2 separate regions of the Homo sapiens genome follow, and region 2 is linked to region 1. Evidence: promoter capture Hi-C in 16 types of primary human blood cells and fetal thymus (Javierre and others, 2016). All regions are on one chromosome and are shown on one strand. Each heading gives the region's core, a stretch centred on a gene start or on the middle of the fragment in contact. The rest is flanking DNA. Distances are from core to core; before and after follow the strand shown. Region 1 overlaps PRMT7 (protein arginine methyltransferase 7). Region 2 holds the start of DPEP3 (dipeptidase 3).

Evidence for each region. Contacts are between HindIII fragments. The CHiCAGO score rates a contact against its expected background, and 5 or more counts as called.
Region 2: the fragment with the promoter of DPEP3 here is called in contact with a fragment that was not itself captured in region 1 in 1 of 17 cell types (fetal thymus); the score reaches 5.1 in fetal thymus.

The regions. Positions count from the first base shown.
Region 1 is chr16:68,326,871-68,330,050 of GRCh38, reverse strand. PRMT7 (protein arginine methyltransferase 7) reads right to left here. Exons shown (of 19, transcript NM_019023.5): 6 at 877-985. It also overlaps the pseudogene RNU4-30P. Among named protein-coding and RNA genes, the nearest start is that of PRMT7, 17 kb to the right of the region's middle. The HindIII fragment of the contact is 1,093 bases long and covers 851-1,943 here.
Region 2 is chr16:67,979,087-67,982,129 of GRCh38, reverse strand. It overlaps DPEP3 (dipeptidase 3), which reads left to right and starts at 1,631. Exons shown (of 10, transcript NM_001370198.1): 1 at 1,631-2,036; 2 at 2,365-2,491. The coding sequence starts at 1,750. RefSeq lists an enhancer at 1,807-2,307. The HindIII fragment of the contact is 6,110 bases long and covers 1-3,043 here.

The sequences.
Region 1 (3,180 bases), core at 148-2,647:
GTGGTGGCAGGCACCTGTAATCACCGCTACTTGGGAGGCTGAGGCAGGAGAATCACTTGTACCCAGGAGGTGGAGGATGCAGTGAGCCAAGATTGCACCACTGCAATGCAGCCTGGGTGACACAGTGAGATTCCGTCTCAAAAAAAAAATATGTGTGTGTGTGTGTGTGTGTGTACATATACATATTCTGGAAACCTTAAGAGACAATGCTATACAGGAAAATTGTTCATGTTGTATGCAGAAGCAGAATGTCAGAACTACTCTCGCCATTCTCCTGCCTCAGCCTCTCCAGTAGCTGGGACTACAGGTGCCCACCACCATGCCTGGCTAATTTTTTGTATTTTTAGTAGAGATAGAGTTTCACCGTGTTAGCCAGGATGGGTGAACCCAGGAGGCAGAGCTTGCAGTGAGGCAAGATAGCGCCACTGCACTCCAGCCTGGGCGACAGAGTGAGACTCTCTCTCAAAAAAATAAATAAATAAAAGAACTAAGTACTTTCTGCCTGATGAAACTCAGAGTTGAGCTTTGAGCAGTGGCAGTATCGTAGCCAATGAGGTTTATCCAAGGCGTAATTATTGGTAGTTGAAACTCAAGAGTTGAGCCCCATAAGAATTCCAATTTGCTTAAAGCAAATGTAGGTTTTGTTTGCGTCTCCATTGCTGGACCTGACTAGCTCTAGTCTACTCCTTGTTGACTAGTTTTAACTAGCAGGAAAATAAACATCAAGAGAAACCAAGTCCTTACTGTCAGAGCTCCACACAGAGAGGTCCCACTTCTATGCTATGACCTGGATTTGTTCCAGGTAACTGGAATAACCCTTTTCCTCTCTCACACAAGAGCAAGCAAAGCTTTCAACACAGGGTGTGTAAATCTCACCTGGACCTACAGTCACCTCGGTGGAATGCTTGTTGATAACCTTAATCTTATCACTAAAGCCATTTTTCTCCACAATCTTCACAGCAGCATCAGCCATAGGCTTGAAAACCTAGAAAATAGAGCCGAAACCCAAGGAAAAATGAGCAATAAATTAAACAGTAGTCTGACCTTTAAGGTGAGCAAGCTATTCCTTGATTCTGGTCCTAAGATATGTAACTTAAATACTTTATTCTCCAAATGTGCATCATGAAAAAGGGCTGAGATTCAGCTGGCTTTAACTTGTGATTAGGGACTCTCATTCCGTGCCAGGCACAGCGGGGATGCCGGGGATCCTGAGGAGGCTGCACTACTTAGTAAGAGCAGTAGGTGTCAGTACCGCACAAGAGGACGCCAAAAAGCCAGGAAAGGGACTTGCCTCACGAACCTGGGAGGCGTGCTGTGCCCTCCAGAGGAGAGCAGACTGTAGGTGTGAGTAAGTAGGTCATCCTCTGGGCTCAAAATTGTCCCAAATCCCCACTGTTGGCAGAACACAGCCTCTATTTTCTTATGGTGCAGCAGTGCCTCTTGTCCATGGGGGATACATTTTAAGACCCTTGGTGGATGCTTGAAACCTCAGACAGTACTGACCCTTATGTATACCATTTTTTTTTTTTTTTTTTTTTTGCTATACATACATACTGTTCCATGGTGGGCAGCTCTATGCAAACCTACCCCAACAGGCCACGGGAGCTGAGAGGCTGAGGAAAGACTGGCAAATCCAGCTTCTCAGAAAGACACACTTTATAGAGACATACAAACAGAAGCCTTGTCTCGGGCAGTGAGAAACTGGGCCCCCACACTGTTATGGCTCAGACGCAGGGCTTACATACCACAGGGAATTTGACGAAGGGCAGGATTTACGGTAAGTATGTATTTATGATAACATCAAAGTTGTTCTGACCTGAGGGCAGGATTTACATCAAAGTGCATGAGAGCGGAAATTTTAGAGGCATTCCTGAAGCTGGGGTTGGTCAGAAGTCAGCGTGGAGGATTAGCATTCACAGTGGAGCTGCTTCAGCCTCCAAGCTTACCTATGACCAGGTTTAATTTATAAATTAGGCACAATAATAAATATAAATAATAATTTATAAATTAACAATAACTAAAAATAGAACAATTATGTAATAATACTCAGAATGGTACACAACTTACAACTTATAAATAATTTCTGGAATTTTCCATTTAATTTTTCTTTTTTTTTTTTTTGAGAAGGGTCTCACTCTATTGTCCAGGCTGGAGTCCAGTGGCATGATCACTGCAGCTTCCACCTCCCAGGCTCAAGCAATTTCCCACCTCAATCTCCCAAGTAGCTGGGACTACAGGCGTAGATCACCATGCCCAGCTACTTTTTGTAGAGGCGGGGTTTTGCCATGTTGCCCAGGCTGGTCTCCAACTCTGGGACTCAAGGTTTCCACCTGTCTCAGCCACCCAAAGTGCTGGGATTACAGGCGTGAGCCACCGCACCTGGCTCCATTTAGTATTTTTGGACCTCAGTTGACCACAGGTAACTGAAATCACGAAAAGTGAAACCATAGATAAGGGGAAACTACTGCTTTGGAGGCCCTCCCTTACCTTCCCAGTCTTCCTCCCCCATTCCCCCAACAACCAACACTCCAGCCACAATGATCTCATGATCACTGAGCCTTCCCTATCCTGGCCCCACCTGCCAAATCAAACCCCACTTCCCAGGGCAGCATGAATCCCCCATCCAGAAGTCTTCCCTGAACTCTTCGAGTTTCCCTGAACATAAATAAGCACCTCCAACTCTTTGTTTTCAACTTATCCAGTCTAGATTCCACAGCCCCAAGAGCTCTAGCATGTAAAACAAACAGACTCACGTGTGGCCCTACACACGAAGTGGAAACCACAAAATGATACCGAGACTGTTCCTGATAAGATTTTCCTTTTTTCTAAATCCTTTTCTGTATTTCCCACATTTTCTACCATGAATACTATATTTTTTACTATAATCAAGGGACAAATGCTGTATCCTTTCGTAAAGAGTACTTACGTGAGCAGCTCCAGTTGTGCAATTGATTAGCGCGCAGTATTTACATGGAATACACACACATGTTCTCCTAGAAAAATCTTCATCATCTATTTCAAATTATTTCTAGGATTTGCCTTGATGTTTTTAGATGTGGTTTGAGGGCCTTAAACCCTAGTTCTCACCAATCACTTTGCCTCCACCCTGACAATATCCAAAGCCAGTGTCGTCCCTCACCCCTGCTGCCTTCTGACTCATCAGTCACCTCTCCCTGAACC
Region 2 (3,043 bases), core at 382-2,881, 350 kb after region 1:
GGGCTGTGAGGGCTGCCAGCACGCTGTCACCTCTCATTTTTGTGTCTGTATACTAACATATATATAGAAAAAAATATTCGGCCCGGTGCGGTGGCTCACGCCTGTAATCCCGGAACTTTGGGAGGCCAAGGTGGGCGGATCACGAGGTCAGGAGATCAAGACCATCCTGGCTAACACGGTGAAACCCGGTCTCTACTAAAAATACAAAAAATTAGCTGGGCATGGTGGTGGGCGCCTGTAGTCCCAGCTACTCGGGAGGCTGAGGCAGGAGACTGGCATGAACCCGGGAGGCGGAGCTTGCAGTGAGCAGAGATGGAGCCACTGCACTCCAGCCTGGGTGGCACAGTGAGACTCCGTCTCAAAAAAAAAACCACGTCTCTAAAAAAGAAATAAGGCCGGACGTGGTGGCTCATGCCTGTAATCCTAGCACTTTGGGAGACCTAGGTGGGCAGATCGCTTGAGCTCAGGAGTTCAAGACCAGTCTGGGCAACATGGTAAAACCCTGTCTCTAAAAAAAAATGCAAATATACAAAAATTAGCTGGGCATGGTGGTGCATGCCTGTAGTCCCTCCCAGCTACTTAGGGAGCTGAAGCAGGAGGATCACTTTTACCTGGGAGGTCGAGGCTACAGTGAGCTGAGATGGTGCCACTGCACTCCAGTGAGACCCTGTCTCAAAAAAAAATTTGTTTTAATAAAATAAAAAATAACAATTAGCCATGCATGGTGGCACTGCACCTATAGTCTCAGCTACTTGGGAGGTGGAGGAAGGAGGATCGCTTGAGCTCAGAAGTTCAAGGCTGCAGCAAGCTATGATCAAGGCTGCAGCAAGCTATGATCACCCCACTGCAACTCCAGCCTGGGTGACAGATACTCTGTCTCTTGGAGAAGGAAAAAAAGCTAAAATAATGATCCCCAACAAAAATTGTTCTTAAATTTCATTTTCGGGGCCGGGCACGGTGGCTCACGCCTGTAATCCCAGCACTTTGGGAGGTCGAGGCAGGAGGATCACTTGAGGTCAGGAGTTCAAGGCCAGCCTGGCCAACATGGTAAAACCCCATCTCTACTGAAAATACAAAAATTAGCTGGGCATGGTGGCGGGCACCTGTAATCCCAGCTACTCGGGAGGCTGAGGCAGGAAAATGGCTTGAACCCGGGACGTGGAGGTTGCAGTGAGCCGAGACTGCATCATTGCACTCCAGCCTGGGCAACAAGACCCAAACTCCGTCTCAAAACTGAAATGAGATGAAATGAAATAATGAAATGAAATGAAATGAAATGAAATGAAATGAAATACCTATAGGGAATCTTTCTGTCCATCAAACCAGACAGACCGAATTAACTCTTCTGAGTCGCAGCTTAGAATATTTGACCTGCCTAGGAGCTGGGCACAAGCCGGCAGCTAACCGCCACGTGGGCCTGGGTAGGAGGTGAGATCAGGAAGATCCCTGGGCCCCTACTAGTTCCCTGCCTGGCCTCCTCCCCCACTCGTGTGGGGGTCTACGGAGCCAGCGCTGGGGGTGGAAGGGCGAGGAGTCCTCGACGCTGCAGCGGCGGTTCCGGCCCATGGGGGCGCTCTCCTGCTTGGGGGCGGAAAAGCCGTGGCGCCCCCTTGCGTGGCGCGTCGGTCTCAGAGTCGCGTGACTTCAACCCCCTCTTCGGGAGGCTGGGTCGTCATGATCCGGACCCCATTGTCGGCCTCTGCCCATCGCCTGCTCCTCCCAGGCTCCCGCGGCCGACCCCCGCGCAACATGCAGCCCACGGGCCGCGAGGGTTCCCGCGCGCTCAGCCGGCGGTATCTGCGGCGTCTGCTGCTCCTGCTACTGCTGCTGCTGCTGCGGCAGCCCGTAACCCGCGCGGAGACCACGCCGGGCGCCCCCAGAGCCCTCTCCACGCTGGGCTCCCCCAGCCTCTTCACCACGCCGGGTGTCCCCAGCGCCCTCACTACCCCAGGCCTCACTACGCCAGGCACCCCCAAAACCCTGGACCTTCGGGGTCGCGCGCAGGCCCTGATGCGGAGTTTCCCACTCGTGGACGGGTATGTAGGTGCAGCGTTTGGGCAACGCGGGGTGAGCACACCCTTGGGCAGGAGAGGAGGTTCTGAGCATGCTATCAAGGAGGCTATCAAGGAGGCTCCCTCACACCACCCCTGGATGCCCTCTCTCCTCCATCACCCATGGGTGCCCTTCCCCGCATTACTCCATTCCTGGTGGAATCTAACCCCCTCCCTCCAACCCAACCTCAGGAGGTCTCTATATGGTCTGTGTGAGGAGGTGCCTGGTGGGGTGGAGGAGGGTAGACCCAAGCACCTGATATATCCTGACTGATCTGGAGGCGGTGTTTCCATCTGACCTTCACACCCCCAGCCACAATGACCTGCCCCAGGTCCTGAGACAGCGTTACAAGAATGTGCTTCAGGATGTTAACCTGCGAAATTTCAGCCATGGTCAGACCAGCCTGGACAGGCTTAGAGACGGCCTCGTGGGTGCCCAGGTACCACAGGGACACACAGGGTGCCACAGCATGGCTGCTGGGGGATGTTGGGGTCACAGAAACCTGGGTCAGCCAGCCTCTGGGTGACTAAATACAATGGGGCATGCAGTGTGCCATCATGTGGTTTCTAAGGAGAGTGGGGCCTTGGAGGCCAAGACAGGCTAGCTGCATGTATGCCCAGGTTCTGTGGAAACACGCAGAAAATGACCAGAAAATCCCTGGTGAGTGTGGGGTCTGCCGTAACCACAAAGGACATAGTGGATTGGCCTTGGGGCATTCACATAGCACATGGACTAACAGCAGTTTTTTGCTTGTTTGTTTGTTTGCATTTTTGAGACAGTGTCTCCTTCTGTCGCCCAGGCTGGAGTACAGTGGCACGATCTCGGTTCACTGCAACCTCCGCCTCCCGGGTTCAAGCAATTCTCCCTGCCTCAGCCTCCTGAGTAGCTGGGATTACAGGCACTCGCCACCACGCCCTGCTAATTTTTGTAGTTTTAGTAGAGACAGGGTTTTACCATGTTGGCCAGGCTGGTCTCGAACTCCTGACCTCAC